Regions from separate parts of the Homo sapiens genome. Here all the other regions are linked to region 3. Evidence: promoter capture Hi-C in human tissues and cell types (Jung and others, 2019). All regions are on one chromosome and are shown on one strand. Each heading gives the region's core, a stretch centred on a gene start or on the middle of the fragment in contact. The rest is flanking DNA. Distances are from core to core; before and after follow the strand shown. Region 1 has its middle 28 kb from the start of CYYR1-AS1. Region 2 has its middle 9.3 kb from the start of CYYR1-AS1. Region 3 holds the start of APP (amyloid beta precursor protein). Region 4 has its middle 55 kb from the start of CYYR1-AS1.

The links. The method cuts DNA at HindIII sites, captures the fragments that hold promoters and counts their contacts. A contact is called where the count stands out against the background at its distance.
Region 1: a fragment that was not itself captured here is called in contact with the fragment with the promoter of APP in region 3 in 2 of the 25 tissues and cell types used here (mesenchymal stem cells and mesendoderm cells).
Region 2: a contact is called between a fragment that was not itself captured here and the fragment with the promoter of APP in region 3, in 2 of the 25 tissues and cell types used here (dorsolateral prefrontal cortex and heart left ventricle).
Region 4: a contact is called between a fragment that was not itself captured here and the fragment with the promoter of APP in region 3, in 2 of the 25 tissues and cell types used here (hippocampus and lymphoblastoid cells).

Annotation. Positions count from the first base shown.
Region 1 is chr21:26,375,638-26,379,264 of GRCh38, forward strand. No RefSeq gene overlaps it. Among named protein-coding and RNA genes, the nearest start is that of CYYR1-AS1, 28 kb to the right of the region's middle. The HindIII fragment of the contact is 3,594 bases long and covers 401-3,627 here.
Region 2 is chr21:26,394,848-26,398,385 of GRCh38, forward strand. It overlaps a transcript of CYYR1-AS1 not described here. Among named protein-coding and RNA genes, the nearest start is that of CYYR1-AS1, 9.3 kb to the right of the region's middle. The HindIII fragment of the contact is 3,858 bases long and covers 1-3,538 here.
Region 3 is chr21:26,169,246-26,172,557 of GRCh38, forward strand. APP (amyloid beta precursor protein) reads right to left here and starts at 1,525. Exons shown (of 18, transcript NM_000484.4): 1 at 1,319-1,525. The coding sequence starts at 1,375. APP-DT (APP divergent transcript) reads left to right here and starts at 1,622. Exons shown (of 4, transcript NR_186396.1): 1 at 1,622-1,807. RefSeq lists enhancers at 28-237, 736-1,260 and silencers at 278-547, 1,048-1,877. The HindIII fragment of the contact is 4,835 bases long and covers 1-3,312 here.
Region 4 is chr21:26,349,345-26,352,645 of GRCh38, forward strand. No RefSeq gene overlaps it. Among named protein-coding and RNA genes, the nearest start is that of CYYR1-AS1, 55 kb to the right of the region's middle. The HindIII fragment of the contact is 5,857 bases long and covers 1-3,301 here.

The DNA.
Region 1 (3,627 bases), core at 948-3,447, 210 kb after region 3:
GAATTTTTCACTGTCTACATTTAGTGGATTTTTAGAGGACGGGGCAAAATATGTTATCACGTCTAATCCATAAATAAGATATGGACAATCCTTTGCAGAATATCAACCGTTGCTTCACATTGTCGTTGAAGACAACTGCATGAATACTAGTCTTTGTTGCTAGCTGTGATGAATAATAGCTAAGAAAAATACAGAACCCCCAAAACACAGTCTCTGTGTTTCTTGACATCCATGATGAGCAGCATGAGAAAAGGTGGCATGAATGGCTGCTATAAGGGCTTCCTAGTTCTCATGCTATGTCCCACAAACTATGATTTTAAATTAAAGATTAATTTCTTTGGTTTTTGCATACCAGGAAAGTCACATTTTCCTCAGTATACAAATAGCCCTGTCCTAATCCTGTAAGTTTGGGAAAGAAAAGTTAAAGGGGGAGGTGGGAATGTGATAAGACAATTCATCCATTCATTCATTTATTCAACAAACATTCATTTTGGAAGGTTCAATGGCATGTAGGTCTCAATGGAGTCAAACATTTCTGGATGTAAATAACTAGAGAAGGGGGTTGGTAATGATGGGAGATGGTGATTGGAAGAAAAGTGATTGTTGAAGTGAGATTGTGAGTGGAGTGTTGTTATTGGCAATCACAAGACCTAGGGCAGTGCCTTCTAGTATTTTTTTTTCTATTGTGGTGCATATAGAAAGTGAAAATATTTATATAGCATATCTGGCTGGGGGCTTTAGGTGCTCCCATCCTGCTCAGCATCTGTGAGGGGCCAAAGAGCTCAACACCTCATGGACATGAGTTGGAGAGTTTGCTTGGTGCTATGACCATGGGAGTGGATGGCTGGGCCAGAATGATGAACCAGGAACTGAGAGGCCAAGGTGTTGGAAAGCTTACACACATAGAAATCAATCACCAAGGATTAATGACAGAGGTCATGTAGGAGACAGCAACAGGACTCAATCAAAAAATAAGATCTTCAAAGAGGGCTGCAGACAACAGCAACAAGGAAGGATTGCTGTCTGATTGTATTAGTCTGCTGGGGCTGCCTTAACAAATACCACAGGCTAGGTGGCTTAAACAACAGACATTTATTTTCTCACAGTTCTGGAGTCTAGAAGTCCAAGATCTAGGTGTTGGCAGGGTTGGTTCCTTCTGGGACCTTTCTCCTTGACTTGTAGATGGCTGTCTTCTCCCCTTTTCTTCCCAGGATCTTTCCTCTGTGTATGTTTGTGTCCTAATCTCCTCTTCTTATAAGGACATGAGTAATATTGGAGTAAGGCCCACTCTAATCATCTCATTTAACCTTAACCACCTCTTTAAATATCCCATATCCAAATCACATTCTATGGTACTGGGAGTTAGGACTTCAGCATATGAATTTGAGGGTGGGGGACATGATTCAGTTTATAACAGCAATGATATGAGCCTTAAGGTTGGGGAGGGTATAGGGAAGAGGGAGGGAGAATTCTCTGAAAGGGGCAATAAAGAGCAACAAGGCCACCTACTCCACCTCCAGACCTAGGAGGGAAAATAGCCATCGCTAAAGAGGGAAGCAAAGAAAACCATATCCTCGGGGGAACAAAAAGGTGAAGGGAAGATTAGGAGAAGAGGGTGACATTCTAGGGGATTTTATGCCTGGGAATATGGTGACACATCTCACACTTTTCTGACTCATCCATGTTGCATGTAGACACAAAATACACCTAGGAAATGGAATGTCTTATATGTGCTTGTGAAAAGTCTTCTTCTGCTCCTCCACCCAGGCTCATTCAGGGAGTCTCTTCCTTCCCAGGGCCCCTGAGAGTTACACTTTGCACCATCTCAATGGTGCAGTTCTCTATAAATATGCTGATATCTGCACTTTCTGAAGCTTTCAAGGTGTAAAAATAGTGTTGTTTCCTCCTTTTGTGCACAATGAGCCTGAATCACACTGGGCTTCTTAAAGAAATGGGGGTAGACCCCTCCTCTGCTTGGAAATGTGCTTTGTCCCCTGGACCTTAGTCTCAGGGGCCCCTTGTGAAAACAGTGCCTTCCTCCATCTTTGGCCTGTTGCAGCTCCATTCATTTCTTGCAGGAGTGGTCTCTGCACCCAGGCTGGATAACAGACACGGTATAGTCCTCCTCAGTGGTTCTCTTTTTCTCCAGGTCATTATCTCTGTCTCTTAGGTGAACATGAAGCCTTTAGGGCAAATTAAATCATAAAGACTGAGATATCTTGGGCCTACAACCAGTTCATCAAGCATATATAGTGCTTGATCCCTAACAGCAGATCCAGCTTGCTCCTCTGCTTGGTCTCTGTTCCCCTGCTACCCTCTTTCCACCACTCAGGTCTCAGTCAAACACTACCCCTTCTCCAAAAGACCTTTCCTGACCACTTTGCTGAAAGAAGTACCCCACTTCCCCTCCACAGTCATTCTCTATCACAGGAACCCACTTTATTATCTCCCTGTGACAGTCGTTCTCTGGAATTATTTTGCATTTTTCTTGCTCACGTTCCATGACCCTCGCCCCATTAGGATAGCTCTTGTGTCTGGTTCATCAGTGCCTAGAACAGTGCTTATCACATGTTATTTGTTCAACAAATATTTATCAGATGAATAAATTGATGGTTCATTCATCGGAAAGCAGTGAGCAGCACTGGCATGGCCTTTGGTTTTATCATCCAATTTTTTAGTGAAAAAATGGTTTTTAATCTGATCTATTTTGAGCCCATTTTAGTTTCATTGAAAGCCAATTTGCATTTGAACACTTGATCTTGCTAGAGTGAAGCATACTCTAAGATTGACCTGATTTACTCATAATACACAAAAATCAGTAAGTCCTGAGACTTTGTATTATTTCTGTTTCATCCGTGGCATTCATTCTGCTTTCTAACTAACTTATCATAAGTATCTTTTGGTTGTCTGCCAGTCAGTAGGCCAGGGGATCTGGAAATATTCTTCGGGTTGCCATTCTTGATGTTCCAGCACCCAGAGGCAAATGGACACTGATGTGCTTGACAAGAGCCTCCTTTTGTAACCCTATCAGTAATTGCCCTTCCTATGTGACCCAACGGGGGTTTAGGTAGGATGTGGGCTGCAGCGCTAACTCTGATATCTCCTTGGTGGGTTGGGGAGCCTACCATTGCCACTTCATTCTAATTCATGCCCCTGGTTTTTCCATACAAGCCTAACTCAGAGATACTGCAAATTCATTTCCAGCCCACCACAATAAAGCGGGTGTTGCAATGAAGCAAGTCGTGGAAATTTTTTGGTCTCCCAATGCAAATAAAAGTTGTGTTTACACTATGCTATTGTCTATTAAGTGTGCAATAGCATTATGTCTAAAAAATATGCATACTCAGCTGGGCATGGTGGCTCATGCCTGTAATCCCAGCACTTTGGGAGGCCAAGGTGGGTGGATCACCTAAGGTCAGGAGTTTGAGACTAGCCTCGCCAACATGGCGAAACCCCATCTCTACTAAAAATGCAAAAAAAAATTAGCTGAGCATGGTGGTGTGCACCTGTAATTTACCCCAGGTACTTGGAAGGCTGAAGCAGGAGAATCACTTGAACCTGGGAGTAAAGGTTGCAGTAAGCCAAGATTGTACTACTGCACTCCAGCCTGGGTGACAGAGTGAGACT
Region 2 (3,538 bases), core at 635-3,134, 230 kb after region 3:
TATGGTTTTGAAACCTTTCCCCTTGGAAAGGTGCAGTGGACGTTACTCTGCCAAATCTCAAAATGCACTGATTCACTCCACAGATGTTTACAGCCAGTGTTTACATGTGTTTACCAGTGTTTACGTGTCTTCCATCAACCAAGCACTGACCTTGGCTTTGGAATATGATGCTAAATGGCATACAGTCCAGCTCCCAAGGTACTCAGAAGCCTGGGACAGGGAATCTACTTCACCCTCAAATTTCTTACCCTATGGAGGAATCCTTGTATTTAACAGAGACCAGCCAACAAACAGTGCCCCATACTGGAATGTCAGAATGGGAAGGAGAGAGAAGATCACAAGCGTCTTGTGTTGTGAACCTCAAACCCTGAAATCTGGCAGCACCAGGGAAGAGTCCTCAGAAAGAATGGCTCTGTGGTTCCCAAACTCTCCCAAATCCCTATTCCCTAAGTGTAACCAAGTGAGCCAAGCAAATGGTCATCCCTCTCACTTCACCTGGAGGTAAATTTGTGCCTGAGGCCGATTACCGCTTCCTGTTCCCCATCATGATGTCAAAATGCAAATGGCAGGTATGATGAAGATGAGCATATGATAGAAATAAGACTGTATTTCACAAAAATATAATCAAATCTTTATATTTCAAAATAAGCTTACAGATCTCCACCTAATATGACTTCAAGTAAATTTACATTATGTGGACCTACCATTTCCTAAGTATTTGCTATACTGCTCCATGGCTCTGTCAAATGTCTCTTCAGACTCTTAGATGGGATTATTGCCATCTACAAATAACTTCTGCTTTTTTAAAAAAGTCATTCAACAAACTTTATGAAACCACCAGGAACTGGATCAGGTGGTGGGGATTAAGGATGAAGGCCACGCTCTCTGCTTATCTTAAACTCAATAGCTTTCCTTGATTATATCAACATTTTTTCAACTCCTTTCATTTAAAGAATACATTTTTTTTGAAAAAGCATTTAGTTATGATTCAGAAATATAGCAATATAGTGAGATAAAGCTTATATATGTGTATATATATGTGTATATATATGTATATATATATACATATGTGTATATATATATATACGTGTGTGTGTGTATATATATATATATATATATATATATATATATTTTTTTTTTTTTTTTTTTTTTTTTTTTTTTTTTGAGACAGAGTCTCACTCTGTCTCCCGGGCTGGACTGCAACGGCACGATCTGGGCTCACTGCAAACTCCACCTCCTGGGTTCAAGCGATTCCCCTGCCTCAGCCTCCTGAATAGTTGGGATTAGAAGTGCGTGCCATCACAGCCAGCTAATTTTTGTATTTTTCCTGGAGATGGGGTTTCACCATATTGGCCAGGATGGTCTCAGTCTCTTGACCTCGTGATCCACCTGCCTTGGTCTCCCAAACTGCTGGGATTACAGGCGTGAGCCACTGCACCTGGCCACTTATAGATATTTTTTAGGAGGTACCCTAAGCCAGACTTTTGCCCTGAAGACTTTTCTACTCTGCAGTGTTTATTTTTCTGTTTCAAGATGTCTGCAGCAGAAAGAATAATGCAAAATTTCAACATCAGTGTTATTCTAAAAACAATCATATGAAAAATTCAGGTTCCTTCAATAACGACTACCTTGAAAAATAAAAAATTCAGTCACGCAGTTGGTTTTTTTAGTCTTGAGAATATCAAACTGTGTGTGACTGACTTTCACTAAATTGACTAGTCACTGTTGAATGACATGCCCCTTAGCTAGGACAGCCTGGAAAATTGTTTTCAAAGCTTTTGGGACTCTTTCACTCCAATTTTTAGCACAGATTCAAGAATATCTACTTAGCTACCAGGCATCTTCTAGGGTATAGACATTTCTGTACAAAGGACTGATCACCCTCTTCACTGAGCCCTCTCCAGAGTGGGACTTCAGTTGCTTAGTGTAAGAAAACTAGTCTTTTAAGTCACTTTTCATTTCCTTATAATTCATGGGTTTTCTCACTTCAGTCCCTGTCAGAGGTCAGAATGTTTTCCCTCCATTCTTCAGCATCTTCATTTGCCTACAATTATTGTTCAAAGGTAAGTTGGAAGCTGTCCATAGGAAGAAATGTATGATGTAGTACATGACACAATAGTCATGTACCTTATGTGGTTACTGTAGCTTGCAGAGCATCAGTCTTAGTAGGTGATCAGTAACTGGTTGTGGAATAAATAAAGCAATGATTGAATGACAATATAACTGAAGAATCAATGGGCAATGCATATAGGAGTTACTAAGTGTATTCGTCCATTCTCACATTGCTATACAGATACTACCTGACACTGGGTAATTTTTAAACAAAAGAAGTTTAATTGACTCCCAGTTCCACATGGCTGAGGAGGCTTCAGGAAACTTGCAATTACGGAGGAAGGTGAAGGGAAGCAAGGCACATCTTCACAAGGTGGCAGGAGAGAGAAAGAAGGGAAAGTGCCACACTTTAAAACCATCAGATCTCCTGCGAACTCCTTCACTATTATGAGAACAGCATGGAGAAACTGTCCCCATGATCCAATCACCTCCCACTAAGTCCTTCCCACAATACGTGGGGATTACAGTTCGAGATGAGATTTGGGTGGGGATACAGAGCCAAACCATATCACTAAGTAATCCGATACCATAAGAATTACTTAAATATTTTTTACCACATTACGTTTTTTTCAAGTAAGAAATGTTTTCAATTCTGATGTTAGCCAACTTAGGGTGTCTTATTGTTTTCCCCAGTGACCAAGCAGAAAACAAAATGCTCAAAAAGGATCAGAGAAGAGAGTTCAACAAAGGGATTGTTTACAATCATGTGGGTGGGGTTAAGTGCAGTATTACATCAAAGAATAGTGCAGTACTTTGGAGTCAGCAAAAGCTGGAGTGCTGAGGGGCAGGGGGAGGAAGCAGTTAGTGACTGGAACATAGAGTGGCTGCATTAAGAGGGCCATCCAATAAGAAGAGTGTCCTTGGGTGGAAGGCCAGAGCCAGCTTGTGATGACTTGCCAGGAAGGTTGCTGTTGGAATAAAAGTGCTTACATCATTCTGCACTAAACTTTCAATTTCCTGGCAAGTATCTTCCATTGGCCAAACTGAAAGCTGGAGGGCAAGGAAGCTTGTTGGTGCAGTCCCTAGAAGTTGAAGTCTTGGATTTCAAAGGAGGATAGCGAAGGTTGGAAAGCGAATCTGGCGTGGGGGGTGGGGCAAACCCCAAATATCCAGGTGCCTTCTCTATTTATTAGCTGAGGTGGTTAATTGGTGGTCTTCCAAGTATTGACAGTTTCCTTCCAATCTTTATTTGTGCAGGATAATATCTCTTTCAGAGGTAGGGAAAACATGATGGAAAGCATAAATTTCAACCATGAAATTCCATGCCCCCTCCCTCACAGAAGGTATTGTGACAGAAAAGAAATGTAGAACTTCAATTCACTTTATAAGTACCGCGTGCTAACCAATTGTGCCACTGGAGCCACAGCACTCAATTTATTTTAGATTCCTAGTTAGCATAATTTGTAGAAAATCAAAGCTAGACAGT
Region 3 (3,312 bases), core at 275-2,774:
CAGCCTCCACACAGCTTTTCTTTGCTGCACTGCAGAGGCGCCATCTTCTCCGTCTTAATCTTCACTCAATTCGATCCTTTTATCTGCACCCTAAAAAAAAGACCCTTCGGACCCTCCCCAGCATCCTGTGCCCCCAGGGGAACTAAACCAGAGTCCCCAGAGCTGCCAGGGAAGAGGCCGCGCCTTAATCAGACAAACGCCTCCTTGGATGCACAGGACAGAGCCCGTGCCTCCCCACCATCCGCCACTGCCCTTTCCAGACGCACATCCCACTCTCCGCCTTATTTCCTCCCCGCCAAGGACTTTACAGCCCAGCACAGAATTAAGCCTCGGAGGTGATCCGAGGGTGGGAAGCAGAGGGGCCCCGAGGCTCCGCCAGAAGCCCCGGCAGCGTCTCTGCCCCCTCCCAGGCGGACGCGCAGCCCCGGGAAGGGAGCCGGGCGGGAGCCTCGGTGGCGCACTGAGACTAACGCGGCTCGGCCCACGGCGAGGGCGGGGTGTCGCGGCTTTTGTTCCCGCGGACCTTCTGCCTCTCAGACAGAGCTTAGGGTGCGAGCGAACTCCCGGGACGTCCAGACTTGGGGAAGGCGCGGGGTGGCTATGGGTCTCCGACCCCTCCCATTTCTCGCAAGTTACACAAAAGGGAGACGCGGACATGCACAAAGTTTGCCTGTGGAAGGCGGTGCGCGACCCCGACGCCGGCTCGGGCTAGGGTCGCACCCAGGCTGCCGCCGCCAGCAGCCGCGAAAAGAGGTTGGAGCAAGGAAGGGGGATGGGGGTGAGAGAGGAAGGTGAAACGAGGCGGAGAACGCAGGGAAAAGCGAGGGGCTCCTAGCTTCCTGGGCTGTCCCGACTCCTCCTCCTCCTCCCCAGGGCCCAAGAGAAAGGAAAGGGCAACGATTCAAGAGCGAAGGACTGGCTTTAGGGACGCTGCGTTTTCGGTTTTCCCCACGTGCTCCTTCCCCCTTCCCCCCTGTCTGAATGTCTCTCGCCTCCCCCGACCCCCGCTTCCAAGGCAGGGACTAAGTCGGGGTCTGGGCTCAGGGTCGCCCCCTACCCTTCTCGCCCCGGGCTGGCGCGGAACCAGGGAGACCAGCGCCTCGCCCGCTCCCTCTCAGCGGGCCGGAGCGCGACTCCCTGGGGCAGGGCTGGGCCGAAAGCGGGGATGCGCTGGACGTCCGCAAGCGGGGGCGGAGAGGAGAGGGGTCCCATTGACGGACCCCCGGCTTCTCTGCATTAAAGACTTGGGTTAAGGTCTTGGGGGGTATCGCGTCCCCACCGTGCAGCCTCCCCCCGCCTTCCGAGGCGCGGCACCCACCTCCAGCGCCCGAGCCGTCCAGGCGGCCAGCAGGAGCAGTGCCAAACCGGGCAGCATCGCGACCCTGCGCGGGGCACCGAGTGCGCTGCTGTGCGAGTGGGATCCGCCGCGTCCTTGCTCTGCCCGCGCCGCCACCGCCGCCGTCTCCCGGGGCCCCCGCGCACGCTCCTCCGCGTGCTCTCGCCTACCGCTGCCGAGGAAACTGACGGAGCCCGAGCGCGGCGGCGGGGCTCAGAGCCAGGCGAGTCAGCTGATCCGGCCCACCCCGCTCGGCACCCGAGAGAGACCCCTAGCGGCGCCGCCGGGGAACTGCGCCCGCTCGCGCCGGGAGGGGCCCTCGCGCCCCGCGCCCACAGGTGCACGCGCCCTTGGCGCCGCCTGCACCCCACGCGCCCCCTCCGCTCCCCGGCCGACGGCCCACCTGGGCTTCGTGAACAGTGGGAGGGAGAGTCTGGGGCCAGGAGAGGGACGGTGCAGGATCAGGGAAAGGTGAGTCCTAGGACGCTGAGGCTCTAGAAAAGTCGAGAGCGCTCCTGCTCGTCCCCGTGAGCTTGAATCATCCGACCCCGCAGGCCTCCCGGGGGTGTCGTATAAAGGACTGCTGCTAGGGTGCGTTTTTATCCGCATTTCGTTTTTTCTCTCGGTTTGGAGAGGTGGGGCAGGCGTTTCTGGAAGAGAATGAGAACGAGTGAAGCTTAAAGGAAATAGGATTTTCTTTGCTTGTTGAGACAGCAAAACCTCATTTTTTAACCCCCAACGTCAAAAGCAGGCACGAGCAACCTGGAATTTCTATCTTTAGAACGAACCAAAGGAGCAAGGCGCAGGACCTGGCAAAGAAGCGGCCAACCCATTTACTTCTTCTTGAAAGCAGGGTTCTGGGCTTGGGTTTTGTTTCTTTCTTATATTTTTGTTTGTTTTTGGTTTTGTTTTGTTAAAGGGGGTGGTCAGTGTGGATTTTGCGGGGCGGGGGGTCTTTTTTTGTTGTTAAGCAGGGATGTAACATCCATCTGAGTTGGGGAAGAAGGAAAAATTAGGAGAGATCATTCGTATTCGACCCCCGTAAATGAGGACTTCTGACCTCAAACGCTGCCCTTGTTCTTCATTGTGTCTGTCCTGAATTATAGAAATGAACCTTCTGCCATGCCACTTTCTCCTGGATTAAACACAAACCGTCCACTGTCCAGTTAGTGTCCAGATAGTTTAGAATGCTCTAGAACTGCCCAGATATATCCCCTGCTCTTGACCTGAAGTAGCATTTAGTTACCAAGCCACAGCCCACTCCACACAGGGCTTGGAGCGAAGGACTGAAGCCAGGGAGTGCTCTGGCCCTTCTGAGGGCTGCACTGCAGCCTGCCTTCTCTCCCTTGCTCATTGCGCTGACAAGGGTGCCTAGGCCCGGGAAGGATGGCTCAGCCAGCGGGGTACAGACTTCCTTCCTGGGAAGTCATTTCTGTACCAGCTCCCCTAAATGTTGTCTTGTGTGTCTTTTCCCGCACTAGGCATTCAGTCTTGACTCTTGGATTACTTTTGCCCCTGAATGTCCTTTGGATGTCCTCAACAAATAAGGACAAATATTTATTGTCATGCAGTATTTGTTTATACGCTTCATGTCATTTACTTCCTACAAAAGCCAAAGAGGCTGTTACTATTATTCCTATTTATACATCAGGAAAATGAAGCTAATGAACTCCCAAATCTAATAGCAAGTAAGTGACATGAAGCTGGGACAGCAGGGAAAAGCCTAAAGTGACAGGACAAACCCAGTTGTTCACTTTCTGCACCACATTTACCCACCGCAATTCCGTATTTGTTCCGGGTCTGCATGAGCAAATAAGGCAAAAAAGAAGGTATCTGAATGCAAAGAGAAACGTGGTCCAAAGCTACAAATCTTGCAGAGTCCACTGCAAAATGCAAACGTGAGACCCTTTGTTACATTATTAAGAATTTTAAGGCCGGGCCTGGTGGCTCATGCCTGTAATCCCAGCACTTTAGGA
Region 4 (3,301 bases), core at 430-2,929, 180 kb after region 3:
TTCTGGTTTTAATTGCTTCCTTGGCAATTAAACGTCTCTACTGGGAAAATATAAAGTTAAATACATAGTTACTGCAGGTATCATCATTTTGGAACTTGACAATATTGTGCACACTGAAGTGATCACAGTTGAACTCACATCTCTTATTTGCGTTTCGGTACCTTTTCACACAACTTTTCGTCTCGTAAAAAGGTGGTCGTTGAAAATTTTGAAGCATGACTTGAAAGCTTTACAAATTATTGTTATGACTTTGAGAAGAAAAAAAAGTGGAAAATATTTTTAAATTAGGAAACCCATGGCTTTAAATTAAAATTTTGGGATTCTCGTCCTTATAGCACTGCTCTTGACTAATCTAAATACCTATAATAATACTGGGTTTAAATGTGAGCCCTTCTCTGGCGCACAGGGGGAATTGATTAGAACGATTAACTAGAGGCATTTTCCTTGGATTTTATTCTTGGCTCCAACATAGATTTTATTGGATCCTCTTCCTAAGCCACCATCCATTGTGTTAGAAACATATATCACTCACTGTAGCTAGGCAGCTGTGAAATGAAGCATGGGATCAACTCTGTTTTTCACTCTGTTGAGGAAAAAAAATCATTTTTAAACCTCTTATTTCACATTCTTATAACTTTTGGGGAAAAACATTCTACCCCCCTTGGAAGTTATAGTTTCTCAGTGTCATTTTCAGACCCGGGTGATCCCCTCTTCTGACACACATATAATTATGTTCTACATTCTGAGGATTTATTGAGTGTATTGCCAACTGGTCTTTAAAATACATTCTTCAAATCCTGCTTTTGCTTGAATAATGTCATCTCTATCTTCAGCATATATTAATAACCGGAATAGTAAAAGAAATTTGCCTAAGAAGTAAGTTATATTTAAAAGCTATTTGATGCTATGTATATGATATTACCTGGTGATATGGTTTGGCTCTGTGTCCCCACCAAAATCTCATCTTGTAGCTCCCATAATTCCCACCTTTTGTGGGAGGAACCTGGTGGGAGATGATTGAATTATGGGGACAGATCTTTCTCATGCTGTTCTCATGATAGTGAATGGGTCTTATGAGATCTGCTTGTTTTAAAAGTGGAGTTGCCCTGCACAAGCTCTTTTATTGCCAACTGCCATCCATGTAAGATGTGACTTGCTCCTCCTTGCCTTCCGCCTTGATTGTGAAGCCTTCCCAGCCATGTGGAACTGTAAGTCCAATAATCCTCTTTCTTTTGTAAATTGCCCAGTCTTAGGTATGTCTTTATCAGCAGTGTGAAAATGGAGTAATACATCTGGCATTTAAAAAAAGTACTATATTTATTGCATATAAGTGAAAATTTATAAAACTAACTATATTAGTAAGGATAGAATAGGTTAGGCTTCTATGAAAAATTAGCCCTGGAATCTGGTTTAAGACATACAATGAAGGTTAAAGACAAAAGCAGATTTATGTAATGATCATATAAATTCTGTTAAGGCTCAGGGAGCTTTTCAGAGTAGCTCCTCTCTCTGTGTGATGACCTCTTTCTCTGTGATGAGAGGTGAGGTCACTTGCTTCTTGTGGTATTTCCATTTCAACACATGGTTTCTACAGTTGCCTGTTATAGAGAAGATAGGTTCTTGAATGTCTCAGCCTGGAGCTGACCTGAATTTCTTCTACTTAGTTTTCACTGCCTAGAACCAGGTTTCTCAACTATGGCTGGGGTGAATAATTTGTTTTGGGGGACTCTCCTTGCACTGCAGGATGCATGCCAGCATCCCTGGTGTCTATACACCAGATACCAGAGGTGTCCCCTCTGGCTGTGATAACCAAAGATATCTCTAGAGGTTGGGGTGAGGGCAGCAGTGAATGGAAAAATTGCTTTTGGTTGAAAACCGCTGAACCAGAGGTAGTCATTTAGTTCTAACTGCAAGGTTGTTGGGAAGAGTGGTCTTCTTGTGTTTACAGGAAGGTGAGGAAAATCAGACATGGATATGCACTAGTAGACTGCAACATATTAGCTAACGGAAATACAGACTTTTCATCATTTCACTATGTATCTAAACATATGAAAAATGTTACTGTGCTTCAATTTTAACATAAAACAAAACAAATAATACTGCATGTCCAAAGTAAATTTAACAACTCTGAGCAATGAACTAAATTTTATTAAATTGTAGAAAGAAACATTTGTAGTAAAAATACATTAAAGGAAACATTTAAAGAAGTTGAAATAATAATTATTGTATTTGACTATAGGAGGCTTAGGAAAAACACTAGCAAATAATTTAAATATGAGCATTAGAAGGAACAAACTAGTGTGACTATGAAAACTTGTTTAGCATCTCTGAACGTATGTTTAATATTGAATATAATTTGTTATTAGCCATTAAAACAACCTCTTCTGGGATAGCCTAGTTCAATGTATACTTGTTTACACATGTTGACCTTGGTAATATGCTTTGTAAATGTGTTGTCAAGTTGTATTTATTAGTCATGGACTAAAGAATATCTATTAGTCACAGGATAATTAGAATGCTTTCAGTTATAAGGCTAGAAACCTAGTGGAACCTTCTTCTGGCAGACACACAGAGAGAGAGAGAGAGAGAGTGAGAGAAAGACAGAGAGAAAGGAATTTTTCAGAAAGAGTTTTTGTTTTACAATAACAAAGCTTTGTTTATTGTTCATGTTACATTTTGGCTTTAGCTCTCCTCCACATATCTTCTCATTCTGGGGCACAGTTTGAAGGAGCAGCCCCTATCTCAGACTTGTGGAAGAGGAAAAAAATAATCATAGAACAAGCTGATGGATCTTATGGTCTCTACTTGGGCGTATCATATATTCCTTCTGCCCATATTCTATCAATTAAAGCAAACCATATGGCCACGCATGCTGTCTGTCAAAGGGTGAGAGAAGTATCTCCTTCCACAGGGAGGTGCTGCCAGTGACATGACCATAGGAGGGATATAGGTCCTCTTACAGAGAGGACAAGAGATAATTGTGAACAATAATATCATCCATTACAGATGTTGAGATGGCTCACTGAAGATAGGGACAGAACTAGAACTGGGCACAATTGCAGTCGTCTCTGCTTCTCTTTGTTTTAGCCACATTCTTTCCAGCTATGAACAGGAAGTCAACAGCAGTCCTAGATTTATACTTCCCCAATTAGCAAAATAAATAAATAAATAAAATTAAACTAAAATGAAATGACTTCTCTTTGCTTTACAATAACATGACTGACTGGCCATTCCCATGTGTCTAAAAGTAGGGTCGCTAAAAGTAGAGCAATGAGATTTCATCTGGTCCATAGTCATCTGG